Regions from separate parts of the Homo sapiens genome. Here regions 1 and 3 are each linked to region 2. The links are contacts of gene promoters, found by promoter capture Hi-C in blood cells and fetal thymus (Javierre and others, 2016). All regions are on one chromosome and are shown on one strand. Each heading gives the region's core, a stretch centred on a gene start or on the middle of the fragment in contact. The rest is flanking DNA. Distances are from core to core; before and after follow the strand shown.

What was found. The method cuts DNA at HindIII sites, captures the fragments that hold promoters and counts their contacts. A CHiCAGO score of 5 or more calls a contact.
Region 1: a contact is called between a fragment that was not itself captured here and the fragment with the promoter of BID in region 2, in 1 of 17 cell types (total B cells). The highest score is 5.9, in total B cells.
Region 3: a fragment that was not itself captured here is called in contact with the fragment with the promoter of BID in region 2 in 7 of 17 cell types (naive CD8 T cells, total B cells, total CD8 T cells and 4 more); the score reaches 7.3 in naive CD8 T cells.

Annotation. Positions count from the first base shown.
Region 1 is chr22:17,594,795-17,599,177 of GRCh38, reverse strand. ATP6V1E1 (ATPase H+ transporting V1 subunit E1) reads left to right here. Exons shown (of 9, transcript NM_001696.4): 7 at 890-984. Among named protein-coding and RNA genes, the nearest start is that of ATP6V1E1, 32 kb to the left of the region's middle. The HindIII fragment of the contact is 2,631 bases long and covers 1,789-4,383 here.
Region 2 is chr22:17,772,804-17,777,314 of GRCh38, reverse strand. It overlaps BID (BH3 interacting domain death agonist), which reads left to right and starts at 2,846. Exons shown (of 6, transcript NM_001196.4): 1 at 2,846-2,934. LINC00528 (long intergenic non-protein coding RNA 528) reads right to left here and starts at 25. Exons shown (of 1, transcript NR_103718.1): 1 at 1-25. RefSeq lists silencers at 2,718-2,817, 2,838-2,887, 2,908-2,977, 3,008-3,337. The HindIII fragment of the contact is 11,451 bases long and covers 1-4,511 here.
Region 3 is chr22:17,996,033-18,000,610 of GRCh38, reverse strand. All of the region lies in intron 1 of MICAL3 (microtubule associated monooxygenase, calponin and LIM domain containing 3), which reads left to right. Among named protein-coding and RNA genes, the nearest start is that of MIR648, 17 kb to the right of the region's middle. RefSeq lists an enhancer at 3,971-4,170. The HindIII fragment of the contact is 1,752 bases long and covers 375-2,126 here.

The sequences.
Region 1 (4,383 bases), core at 1,855-4,354, 180 kb after region 2:
CCATTTTCCCGTACTGAAACTTTGTGCTCATTAAACACTAACTCTCCATTATTTCTCTTCTCTTCTCTTCTCCCCCATTCACCTCATATAAGTGGAAACATTCAGTATTTGTCTTTTTGTGACTGTTTCATTTCACTTAGCATAATGCCTTCAAGGTCCCTGTAGGGTGGGTCAGAATGGCCTTCCTTTGTAAGGCTGAATAATATTCCACGGTATGGATGCCCCACGTTGTGTTTATCCGTTCATCTGTCACTGGACACTTGGGTTACTCCCACCTTTTGGCTGTTGTGAATAATGCTGCTGCAAACATGGGTATACGGATATCTGTCCTGCTTTCTATCCGTTTGTCTGTATACCCAGAAGTAGAATTGCTGGATCATGTGGTAATTGTGTACTTCATTTTTTGAGGACCTATTATACTGTTACTTTGATAAGAACCATCCTTATGGGTATGGCATGGCACTGCTGTTTCTGGTGCCTGCTGTCTCCCCCTCATCTGCAACTGCCAGTTGAAGCTCATGCCAGCAGCCAAACTTCTCTTCCCTCCCTTCTCTCCTTACCTACCCCCAGCTTCTAACACTCTCAGCTGGGGGAATAATGTATCTTCCTCCTGCTGATCCATGTTTCAAATGTAATAACTGCCTCTGGTGTGTTTAATCACCTGCCAAGCCCTGTTAAATCTTGACAGAAACCATTCGCATCTCTTCCCTCCTGTGTGCAGACTGTCATTTCTCCTCAGTGGCCGTGCCGTTTTACATTCCCACCAGCGGTGCCTCTGTTCTTTTACCTGGGATAAATGGAGGTATCCTTGCTTGTATAGTCTGTTGAGTTTTTGGATACTTGCTTCATAGTTCCTAGTGACACCTCTCATTGTGTTCTATACTTCCAGGCTGCAGTGCAGAAGGCAATTCCTATGTACAAAATTGCCACCAAAAACGATGTTGATGTCCAAATTGACCAGGAGTCCTACCTGCCTGAAGACATGTAAGGAGTATTCCTGCTGCTAACAGCTACCTTCTCTCCCTGGGAGAGTGGCCTTTATACCAGGCCTTTTTTAAATGGTATTTTCACCATTTAAACGCACTCTTAGACACAAGGCTAGAGCTGTGGTGTATTCTACTTGCAGCCGTTCCTGTTGTTCTCGCAGTGCTCTCTTGCTCTCCCTTGTTGGCTGGCTAAATATACTCTAAAAGTCTAGTTTGGCCAGGTGCGGTGGCTCACGCCTGTAATCCCAACACTTTGGGAGGCTGAGGCAGGTGGATCACAAGGTCAAGAGATCGAGACCATCCTTACCAACATGGCCTAGGGAGCTAGACTCCCTATCATACCAGTCCACCCTCTGCTCATAGTCCAGTCCTGTCTCTACTAAAAATACAAAAATTAGCTGAGCGTGGTGGCGCACGCCTGTAGTCCCAGCTACCCAGGAGGCTGAGGCAGGAGAATTGCTTGAATCCAGGAGGTGGAGGTTGTAGCGAGCCAAGAACACGCCACTCACTGGACTCCAGTATGGCGACAGAGCAAGACTGCATCTCAGAAAAAAAAAAGTCTGGTTTATGGTCACTGCTTTCCTTCTGCGGGGAGGTGGCCCCCAGAATGAAAGCTAGGACCAGATCTCTGTATTGGATGCTGAGGTAGATACTCCCTTCTTCTAAGTAATAGTTATCAAAACAAGAATTGTGTATGCCTGGTAGTTAGGTTCCTTAGAGATAGAATTGCAAGTATGAGTGGTATTTTTATGACTGTGAGGAAATGACAGAACATTTCTGGGATCAGTGTTCCTAACAAGCTTTGTGTAGCTGGGGTAGGCAGTAGAAACTCCTGACAAGGGGAGAGCCAGTGTCATTTTCTCGATTTCACTGGCCTGTCTGAGGCCACCTAGCCACACTACTGACTAACATTGAAGAAAGTACCTTGGACACTTTTTTTTTTTTTTTAAGACAGGCAGTCTCACTCTGTCACCCAGGCTGGAGTACAGTGGCATGATCTTGGCTCACTGCAACCTCTGCCTCCCAGGTTCAAGCGATTTTCCTGCCTTAGCCTCCTGAGTAGCTGGGACTACAGGCGCCTGCCACCACGCCCAGCTAATTTTTTTGTATTTTTAGTAGAGATGGGGTTTCACTGTGTTAGCCAGGATGGTCTCGATCTCCTGACCTCGTGATCTGCCCGCTCGGCCTCCCAAAGTGCTGGGATTACAGGCGTGAGCCACCATGCCTGGTGCCTTGGACACATTTTGAAGTTAGCTGATTATCACACTTAGGAATGTAAGACCTAGATTTGAGTCCTATCTTGGCCTTTTGCTACTATGGGACCTGGAGACTGAATTCATCATATGTAAAATAGGATCATTGCTTTTTGCTTTTTTGTTTCATGCAGTGAAGAAAAAAAGATGAGATAGTACATGTGAAAATGCTCTGTAAATGGAAAAAGTATATAAACTCATAAGATATGCTGTCAGAGTTGGGTTAGATTCCTGATTCTGCCACTTACTACCTGGGTAATCTTGGACTCGTTTATTCAGTTTCATTGAGTGGTGTCGTCCATTTAGTGTTGCTATAACAGAATACCCGAGGCTGGGTAATTCATGGAGAAAAGAGGTTTATTTGGTTCATGATTCTCATGGCTGGAAAGTTCAAGATTGGACAGCTGCATCTGGTGAGGGCCTCAGGCTGCTTCCACTCATGGCAGAAGGTGGAAGGGGAGTGGGTGTGTGCATAGAGACCACATGGCGAGAGAGGAGGCCAGAGAGCCTAGGGAACCAGACTCCCTATCATACCAGCCCACCCTCTGCTCACAGTCGAGTCCTGCCGGAGCTAGAATCCAGGCCCTCGCCACAGTTCATTGCCTCGGGATCTGCCCTTGAGCCCTGAACACCTCCTACTATGCTCCACCTCCCAACACTGCCACATTGAGAATCAAATTTCACCATTAGTTTCTGAGGGAACAGACTCAAACCATAGTAGTGAGCCCTGATTCCCTTATCTGTAAATTGACGTATTAGCACTAACCTCATAGCATTTTTTATCTTATTTATTTATTTATTTATTTTTTGAGACAGAGTCTCACTCTCACCCAGGCTGGAGTGCAGTGGCACGACCTCGGCTCACTGCAAGCTCCACCTCCCAGGTTCACACCATTCTCCTGCCTTAGCCTCCCGATTAGCTGGGACTACAGGCACCCGCCACCATGCCTCGCTAATTTTTTTTGTATTTTTAGTAGAGACGGGGTTTCACCTTGTTAGCCAGGATTGTCTCAATCTCCTGATGTCGTGATCTGCCCACCTCGGCCTCTCAAAGAGCTGGGATTACAGGCGTGAGCCACCGCACCCAGCCTCTTTTTTTGTTGTTGTTGTTGTATTTTGAGTAAGGGTCTCTTTCTGTCACCCAAGCTGGAGTGCAGTGGTGTGATCTCGGCTTGCTGCAACCTCTGCCTCCTGGGTTCAAGCAATTCTCCTGCCTCAGTCTCTCAAGTAGCTGGGACTACAGGCACGCCCCACCATGCCCAGCTAATTTTTGTATTTTTAGTGGAGACAGGCTTTCGCCATGTTGGCCAGGCTGGCCTCAAACTTGAGTTTGGGAGCACCTCGGCCTCCCAAAGTGCTGGGATTACAGGGGTGAGCTACCACGCCCGGCCAGCAGTGGCATCTTTTATCAGACACACATGCAGTCGTGATAGGGCCTCATCAGTAATGAGCAGGATTGGGCTTAAGAAAACATTCAGATGAGGATTGAGTGATTTGCAAACTGAGATGAAATCCTCTCTTTTTCATTTTGTTGGGGAGGGCTGGCTGTGATAATTAAAACAGGTTTTGTAACATAAAATCAAATTGACACAGGCTGGGCGCGGTGACTCACTCCTGTAATCCCAACACTTGTGGAGGCAGAGGTGGGCGGATCACCTGAGGTCAGGAGTTCAAGACCAGCCTGGCCAACATGGTGAAACCCCGTCTCTACAACAATACAAAAATTAGCCAGGCGTGATGGCAGGTGCCTGTAATCCCAGCTACTGGGGAGGCTGACGCAGGAGAATTGCTTGAACTCGGGAGGCAGAGGTTGCAGTGAGCCAAGATCGCACCATTGCACTCCTGCCTGGGCAACAGAGCGAGTCTCAAAAAAAACAAAACAAATTGACACATAGTGTCACTTGGTAAATGACAGTTATTGAGATGAATACAGTCAGTTCTCTGTATCTTTGGGGTCCACACCTGTGAATTCAACCAACTTTTTCTTTTCACTCCCTAAACACTACGGTATAACAACCATTTACATCGTATTAGCTATTTTAAGTGCTGTAGACATGATTTGCAATATAGGGGAGGATGTGTGATGGTTGTATGCAAATACTACGCTGTTTCATATAATGGACATCTAGGCGGGGACTGGGGTT
Region 2 (4,511 bases), core at 1,597-4,096:
AGGGGCTGAATTTTCACAGGAAGACGAGCCCGGTGGCAGGAAGTGACAGTGAGAAACTGCAGCATAAAGCGGAAGCAAAGGCCGACTGTGACTATGTGGTCGCCAGCTCGCCTTCCCCGTCAAACCTTGCTGGATTTTGTGTTTCATTTTCATTGCCAAAAACATCATTCAGGTCGGGTGCAGTGGTTCATGCCTGTAACCCCAGCACTTTGGGAGGCCGAGGTGGGAGGATTACTTGAGCCCAGGAGTTCAAGACCAGCCTGGGGAACATAGCAAGACCCTGTCCCAAAAAAAAAAAAAAAAAAAAAAAAAAAAGGCCAGGTGTGGTGGCACACGCCTGTAATCCCAGCACTCTGGGAGTCTGAGGCGGGCAGATCACCTGAGGTCAGGAGTTCGAGAACAGCCTGGCCAATATGGTGAAACCCCGTCTCTACTAAAAATACAAAAATTAGCCAGCCAATCATGGTGGTGGGTGCCTGTAATCCCAGCTACTTGGGAGGCTGAGGCTGGAGAATCACTTGAACCCGGGAGGCAGAAGTTGCAGTGAGCGGAAATCACACCATTGCACTCCAGCATGGGTGACACAGCCAGACTCCGTCTAAAAAAAATTTTTAAAAAATTAGCCAGGCGTGGCGGTGCATGCCTGCAGTCCCAGATACTTGGGAGGCTGAGGCAGGAGGATCACTCGAGCCTGGGAGGTCAAGGCTGCAGTGAGCTGTGATCACACCACTGCACTCCAGCATGGGTGACAGAGCTAGATCCTGTTTCAAAAAAAAAAATAAAGTCATCATTCTCTCATGTATGTGTATATTGTTTCATTTGTTAATTAAGGTATAATTTTACATACAGTAAAACTCACCATTCTTCGTGCAGAGTTCTCACAAAAGTGTACAATTGTGTGGCATCCACCACAATCCCTGTATAGAAGAATCCCATCATCCCCGGAATTTCCCTGGACCCTTCCATAGCCCCCCAGTCCGTCACCCCCTGAATTGTTTTCTGGCACCCCGCCCCCCTTTCTTTTTGAAGTGGTTGTTTTGCAGGAAACATCACCCTCTCTCATTTTACAAATACTGCAGACAGATTTTGAAGCCCAAAGCATCATAGAGGCAGCAGATCAGGACAGGGAGGATTGAGGCGGGGAGGCTCTACCCTGACTGTAAGAAGCACTTGAGAGACCTGCAAAAAGCCAACAGGAGAGGCAGAGACTGTGGGGGCCAATTGGTACAGGTCCTGCCCTGCATGACAGGGCCAGTGGCCCCCACAGTGCTGAGGATAAAATCCAACTGCTCATCCAGGCTGCTGGAGCCTCCTGCCTTCAGGCCACCCCACTGGCCTCTTGCCCACTGTGCCCCACTGTCCAAGCTCTCGCCTGCCCTGGGAGGGGCCCCTGCAGCTTCTTGTGCCCAGGTGCACGTCCCTCTCTTTTCCCATCTGGGCGCCTGCTGACATTGTACCATGAATTTGAACACCACCCTGCAGATGACCTGGCCTCAGTCCATGAAGTTTCCCTTTCGTCTTCTGCAGGGCACCGGCCCCTAATGCCATCTGACGGTTTCCCTGCTCACAGGATCTTCCATTTGTTAGCCCCCCAGAGTGCCCAGCCCGAGTGAAGAGCATGCAGGAAACAAGCCCCTGTCCTCGTGGAGGCTACATTCCGAGAGGGGAGGTAGGCAACACACACACAAACGACTCCGTGGTATGTCATGCTGCGATGCTGGCTGTGGAGGAAAATGAAGTGAGGCCTGGTGAAAGCCAGAGGCCATGGGGCTGCCGAGGAGGAACAGGGACAGGGTAGGATTTGCTTAGAGCAGGGCAGGTCGCGTGGGACTCTGCGGGCCACTGAAAGGAACTTGGCTTTTATTCAGAGGATGTTAAAGCGTGAGTGACATCCTCTGACCTTTTATAAAAGAGGCAAGAGTCTAGGGAGCCCGGGTAGAAGTGAGGGCGTCTGGAGGAGCCACAGTGGGCTCAGGGAGTGAGCCCACGCGAGGGCGCAGAGCAACTGGACGCTCCAACAGGGCTGGTGGAAGTGCCGAACGGTGTGCATCACCTTGGAAAGCAGGCAGTTTTTAATACCATGAAGCTCGTCCAGCCCTATGATTCGCATTTCCACTCCTAGGTATCACACTCAAGAGAAGTGAAGACGCCCACAAAGGGCTCTGCAGCAGCACTGCCGGTGAGAGCTGCATCCGGGGATGCATGGACTGGCCTGTCATTCCAGCACCTTGGGAGGCCGAGGTGGGAAGCATCGCTGGAGCCCAGGAGTTCGAGACCAGCCTGAGACCTCCAGAGGTGGAGACCCCCCCCCCACCACCTCCACTAAAAACTGAAAAAGAAATTAGTTGGGTGTGGTGTGCGCCTGTAGTCCCAGCATTATCTATATGTTAAACTGATGTTTTAAATCAGAGTTGATATCCAAATAATTAAAGAATAAACAACAAGCACAGGGACTGGTGAGGGGCTGGGCCAGATTCTCTGCAACCCACATGGCTTCACCCACTTTCCAAACCCCTGGTTCCGTGAGGACCTAGAATGACCACCCCAGACTGTTCCAGAAACAGCCTGGGGATTCTGAATGTTTCCCAGAGAATCATTAGGAATTATCCCAGCGGCGCTGGAGTAAGTGGCCAACTTAAAGTTGGACGACACTGTCTGAAACAGTCGCGTAAGGGGTAAGGGTGGAAAGCCTGGTTCTCACTGCGCTGCCGGCTCCCCGCCCCGCTCCACAGCCCCGCGCCGGCGCGGGCTCCCCGGGTCCCCGCAAGCCGCCGGGGGCGGGCCGGGGCGGGCCGGGGCGGGCCCGGGCGTGGGGGGCCGAAGGAGGAAGCGCGCGGGGCGCCATAAGGAGGAAGCGGGTAGTCGACCGTGTCCGCGCGCCTGGGAGACGCTGCCTCGGCCCGGACGCGCCCGCGCCCCCGCGGCTGGAGGGTGGTGAGTGCACCCGCGCCCCTCCCGGGGTACGCGCCGAGCCCCAGCCCGTGACCCCTGCCTGCCGCCTGCCCCGGCGTGGAGCTCAGGGCCCGCCGCCCGCCCTGGGCCCGACCGCGGTGGGAGCCAGAGGAGGGGAGGCGGGGGGTCAGAGCCCCAGGCCTCAGCAGCGACCTGAGGGCCGGGTCTCTCCCGCCTCCCCTCCGCCCGGGCGCCCTCCTCGGCGCGGCCGGCAGGTCGGTGCTGAGGGTCGGGTCCGCCTCGGAGGCGGGGAAGGCTTTGTTGTGTCCTCTCCACGTGGCCTGGGGATTCAGGGGAGGGGTGCGGGGCGCGGGGAGGGGGAGGGGCCGAGGCCAGCCCCGGAGAGGAGAAAACCCGCGGGCCTGGCCGGGTGCAGGCCACCCTTGCCGGCGGATCGGAATCCCCGCCCACACCGTGGTCTTTCCAGCACCGCAGACACCTGCCGGCTCCTCCCGAGCGGAGCTCAGGGCTGACAAAGCGCGGTCAGAGCGGCCGCTTACTGGGGCTCGCCCGCTCCTTAGAGCACTGGCAATGATGTGCGGATCCTCGCTGCTGCTGCTGGGAAACTGTTGAGTGGCTGAATGACCCCAGGGGACCCTGGGAGAGCTCTGAAGCCCTCAGCCACCAAGTGGCTGGGCTGGCAAGGGTTCATTCATTCATTCAACAAATACGAATGTGCAGCGGTGCTGGGGTCATGATGGCTCGGTGGGCAGCGAGGGGCCGGGCCGGCTGGAGGAGCACAGTGCGGATTCTGTAAGTGGGCTGGGGGCTGGGCCTTCTGCGGCTGGACCGGCCTTCACCTGCAGGCAGGGTTGGGGCAGGTGAGGAGCAGATGGACCCACCCAGAGCTCTTCCACCTTCTCAGGCTTGCACCCCCTTCCTGGAGCCTTATCCACACCCTCAGTCCTCGCTCTCACTGTGGGGGAGCTGCAGAGGATGCGGTTTTTCCACATTCCATCTCCACCCACAGGAGGCTTTGAGATGGGGGGAGCTCTCCTGGGCCTGAATGTGTGCCGTCCTGGGGCCCTGCAGTCCCCTGGGAGTGATGACCGAGACCAGATTCCCTGAGCTGGGGTCTTAAGGGTGTGGGGAGCGCAGAGGGATCCTCTGGCATCAGGAGTTGAGGTAGACAGAGCTCCAGGGAGGCACTGCCGGGAGGACGACCCTGGCCAAGCCTCTGCCTGCGGCCCAGGGTGTGCGTCCCTGCCCCTTCTGCCCCTCTTGCCCAGGGAGGGAAGAGGAAATGCGGGGTCAGCAGTTCGTGGCTGGGGTTTAAAGGCAGGGATCTCCCAGGACGGGCACAGGGAGCATGAGGAAGCAGCTCGTGTCTCTGTTCATGAGATGTGAGAGTGGTGACTGAGACGAGGGGTGCAGAGACCTGCCGTGGCTGGGGCGAGGTGCTGTTAGTGCTTCTGAGGAGGTTGGGCAGGATAGACGGTGGCTGTCAGGTGGTCTCAAGGTTGTGCAGGAGCTTGCCAGAGAGGGAAGCGGGGCATGGCCCCAGGGTGGTATGGGGGATTCTAGGGGGAGGGTGCCTGGGTGGGAAGGGGTGTCGCATG
Region 3 (4,578 bases), core at 1-2,500, 220 kb before region 2:
CTACACGGAACCGGGCTTGCCTGGCCTAGCAGAAAGCCAGCCGCAGCGAGACCCTCCGCCTGGCATGCGGCACTGGTGAGCCGCCACCCCGCTTGCTCAGTAGGTAGCCGGGACGAAGGGGTCTGGCAGGCCCCTCAGGCAAGGCCTCTGTGCCGCATCCCGTTAAGGGGCGGGGACCAGCCCCGTATCTTGGCTGGTCTTCCTGACTCTGAATGCAGAGAAAGTATGTCCAAGAGTTCAAACCACATTTGTGTTCTTTTAATGGTGTTTAATGCAGATGTTAATTGTGATTTATGTGAAACGGGTTGATGTAGAGGAATGAAGGTCAACTGTGGACAGGTGGACAGCTTTTTTTTTTTTTTTCCCCCTAAGCTTGTTTTTAGTGGGATGTGCATGGAGAGGATGACATTTGAATATCAGGCCACCAATGTGTATTTGGTCCCATCTGACACTTTGCTCCATAGACAGTCGTTGTACTCCAGGGATGAGGATGAACTGGGTTTTAAGCTGAGAAAGACATCTTCCTACAGTCGCTGCCGCCTGCGGGAAAGCCCCGCCTTCTGGTTACCTGGCCGCACACAGGCCAGTTCATTGTGGTTACCTTCTCCCGTGAGCACATCTCTGCAGCCCTCTCAGAGGATGCCGTTCATTCCATATTTGATTGCCAGATGTACTTCTCAGGTCAGAAATCCAGCCCCAGATTGTTCAAGTCTTATAGTGAGTTTTTCTTGTGCTCCAGGTTTAGAAGTTTTAAATCTCTTTTATAGTGTATTCAACAGCTTGAGTTAATTTCATAATTATAGGAAAGACATGGTTTGTGTGTTCCTCCTGTAAAGGATACTTTAGAACTCAGACCTGGTTCCTCAGTCAAGGCTGTTTATTTGTGTTTACAGCGCTAACATTTGAAACGTCTTAAACTTGACTGCATATTGTAATTCCTCCCCCCAAACCCCCACCTGGGATGATCCTGTTCCGTGGTGGTTATTCCATGGTGTTACTAGGTGTGGAAGAGAAAATGGGCTTTGGAAATAATGTACGTGAAGAACTTAGCACAGTCCTTGGCACGTAGCAGATGTTCAATAAACATAAAAGTAAATTTTTCCTCTCTTCCTTGGGTTTGAGAGACCTGGGGATGATGATATTGGATGCAGTTTTGGTTGCATGCTCCGTTTTTAAATTAGGGTAATGAGGTCCCCCCCATTCCTCCTCCCACTCAAACTTCCAGCTCTCCAGACATTTCTGTGGTAGATTAAAAATGAAACTCACGTCTTGGTCCTAGAAGTAAAAATAAGGAAAAATTGAGCTCTTCTTCCTGGATCATGTGTTGCCCTTTAAAGGAAGGATGGCACATGCCCTGGAAGAGTGGTACACCATTCAGTACAGAAGAGCAGAGGGTCAAAGGGGACCCTTTCCTGCATCTGTCGAGTAGTCCTGCAGGTGAGGATTTTGGTTGTCGTTGGTTTCACATGTCCAGGTGGAACCAGATGAATTACCTAATTTCTCCTGGCACTGGCTTCTGGGAAGTGGCCCAGATGGTCGAAGCCTGACCATTGGCAGAGTGCTAGCTTTGCTGGGCCGTGCCTCTGAACTGGGATCTGCTAGGAGCAGCCATTTGCCTTCTCCGTCTTGTAGCAGGTTCCATGTGAACAGACGAAAAGGGCATCAAATCTAATGTTCTAGAAAAAATAAGAGCCATCATTGGCTTATTTATGTTCCATAATATTATGGGGCCTGGCATTTTAATAATAATTATGCTCTGGGCCCGGCGCGGTGGCTCACACCTGTAATCCCAGCACTTTGGGAGGCCAGGCGGGCGGATCACGAGGTCAGGAGTTCAAGACCAGCCTGGCCAACGTGGTGAAACCCTGTTTGTACTAAAAATACCAGCTGGGCGTGGTGGTGCGCGCCTGTAATCCCAGCTACTGGGGAGGCTGAGGCAGGAGAATTGCTTAACCGGGAATTGGGAGGTGGAGGTTGCAGTGAGCCAAGATCACGCCACTGCTCTCCAGCCTGGGATACAGAGCGAGACTTCATCTCAAAAAAAAAATAATAATAATAATAATTATTATTATTATTATGCTCTGGATTTACTACTTAGTTGCTTTTTACTTGAGGAAGTGAAAGCTTTTTCATGACCTGTTATCTCATTGATTCTTAATTGTCTCTGAAGTCGTTAAAGTTTAATAGAGTCTATTATTCCCATTTTATAGGCAAAGAAATGGAGGTAACATGATTTGCTTTAAGTTGCAAATGAGTTGGTCCCTGAACTGGGATTTGAATTGGGTTCTTCTTCTTCTTCTTTTTTTGAGACGGAGTCTCTTGCTCTGTCGCGCCCAGTCTGGAGTGCAATGGCGCAGTCTTGGCTCATGCACTCTGCCTCCTGGGTTCGAGCGATTCTTCTGCCTCAGCCTCTCAAGTAGCTGGGACTACAGGCACCTGCCACCACGCCCTGCTAATTTTTTGTATTTTTTAGTAGAGACAGGGTTTCACCGTGTTGGTCAGGCTGGTCTCGAACTCCTGACCTCAGGTGATTCACCCTCCTTGGCCTTCCAAAGTGCTGAGATTACAGGCGTAAGCCACCACACCCGGCCCAGGTTTTCCTTCTTAAGTTTCACTTCACTGAGACCTTTAGGGGGAAAAAATCCACACATCTTTTTCTTTTTTCTTTTCTTTTTTTTTTTTGGAAGCGGAAGGACTTAAAGATACCAGATCATTGTGCTTTTCTGATGACTAGGTAGTGGATGATAGTTAACATTTATTGAGTGTTTATCTGCAGGAATCTGTGCTAGGTGCTGCATAGACATTACCTCATTTATTCCTCACAACAACATTCAAGGTAGAACTTATCATCCCCAGTTTTACGGATGACAAGGTTTTGTGAGGTCCTAGGTCAAGGGAGTGATAGTGAGTGACAAAGCCTTGACTGAAAGCAGGGCTGGGTTCAATCCTGGGCTTTCTGATTCCAGAGTGTGTGCTCCTCCTAACCCGTGTGCTAACGGGCCTTAGGGATGACTAATGGGCAGGCCTGAGAGCCCTGACGCCTGCTGCTGCCACCACCCCAGGTCTGATGGGAGGTGGGGTTGGACGGGCTTTATGTTCTATTGCAGTACAATTTTCACATTCTGGTCTTTTCCTTTGCTAGAAGCATTCATCTAGCCAGGTGGGGGGTCATTACTTTAGAAAAAATAATCAGAGCTGAGAAAACGTCTGCATTTGCAGAGAATGAAGTATTTAATAAGACCAGATGGGCCGGGCGCAGTGGCTCATGCCTGTAATACCAACACTTTGGGAGGTTGAGGTGGGCAGATTGCTTGAGCCCAGTAGTTTGAGAGCAGACTGGGCAACATAGCTAAACCCCATCTCTACAAAAAGTACAAAAATTAGCTGGGCGTGGTGGTGTGTACCTGTGGTCCCAGCTACTCTGGAGGCTGAGGTGGGAGGATTGCCTGCGCTCAGGAGGCCGAGGTTGCAGTGAGCTGAGATCACACCACTGCACTCCAGCACTCCAGCCTGGGTGACAGAGCAAGACTCTGTCTCAAAAAAAAAAAAAAAAAAAAAAAGACTAGATGGGGAGATGAGGGACAGAGAGAATCAAAGAGAATCAAAGTGGTTTGTGGACAGAGGAAATGAGTGATACTCTGACCCAGAGGCCATCTTTAGTGTCCAGGCCATTTTGCTTGAGCTGCTGGTGAAACTGTGAAACTGGAGGCATGGCACTTGGGCTAAAGTCTGTGCGGTGAATAAGGCCCTCAGTTTCTGCTTTAGGTGGCAGAGCTGAAAATCTGATTCCTTTTTGGTCTTTAGCTTCCGGTGTACTTCAATGCAGTACATTGTGGGCGTGGTGGGGATGTGGTTCAGAAATTTACCTAAACTCTGTGGACTTCCCCCTCTCTCCAGCCACGCACTCTGTCATCTTTGGTTCCAGTCTTTAGAATTCAGCTCGGATCCCCTGGGTGATGGGTGGTGTCAGACACTCAGGTGCTTGGATTGCCCCGGTGGAGAGAACAGCATCCTGCCCCCATGGGCTTCAGTTGTACGTGACTTGCTGTTTTCTTGGAGGTGGGCTTTAGTCATCTCTAGCTATAAAGACACAAAAAAACTGGGAAGAATGACCAGGAAACTGTCACCCCAAGCCTTGCAGTTGATTGCATTTTTTTTTTTTTTTCTGAGATGGAGTCTTGCTCTGTGGGCCAGGCTGGAGTGCAGTGGCACGACCTCGGCTCACTGCAAGCTCCGCCTCCCGGGTTCACACCATTCTCCTGCCTCAGCCTCCCGAGTAGCTGGGACTACAGGCACCTGCCACCATGCCCGGCTAATTTTCTGTATTTTTTTTTTAGTAGAGACAAGGTTTCACCGTGTTAGCCAGGATGGTCTCGATCTCCTGACCTTGTGATCCACTGGCCTCGGCCTCCCAAAGTGTTGGGATTACAGGTGTGAGCCACTGTGCCCAGCCTTTTTTTTTTTTTTTTTTTTTTTAAATTGAGACAGCATCTCACTCTGCCACCTAGGCTGGAGTGCAGTGGTGCGATCATGGTTCACTGCAACCTTGACTGCCTGAGTAGTTGAGACTACAGGCGT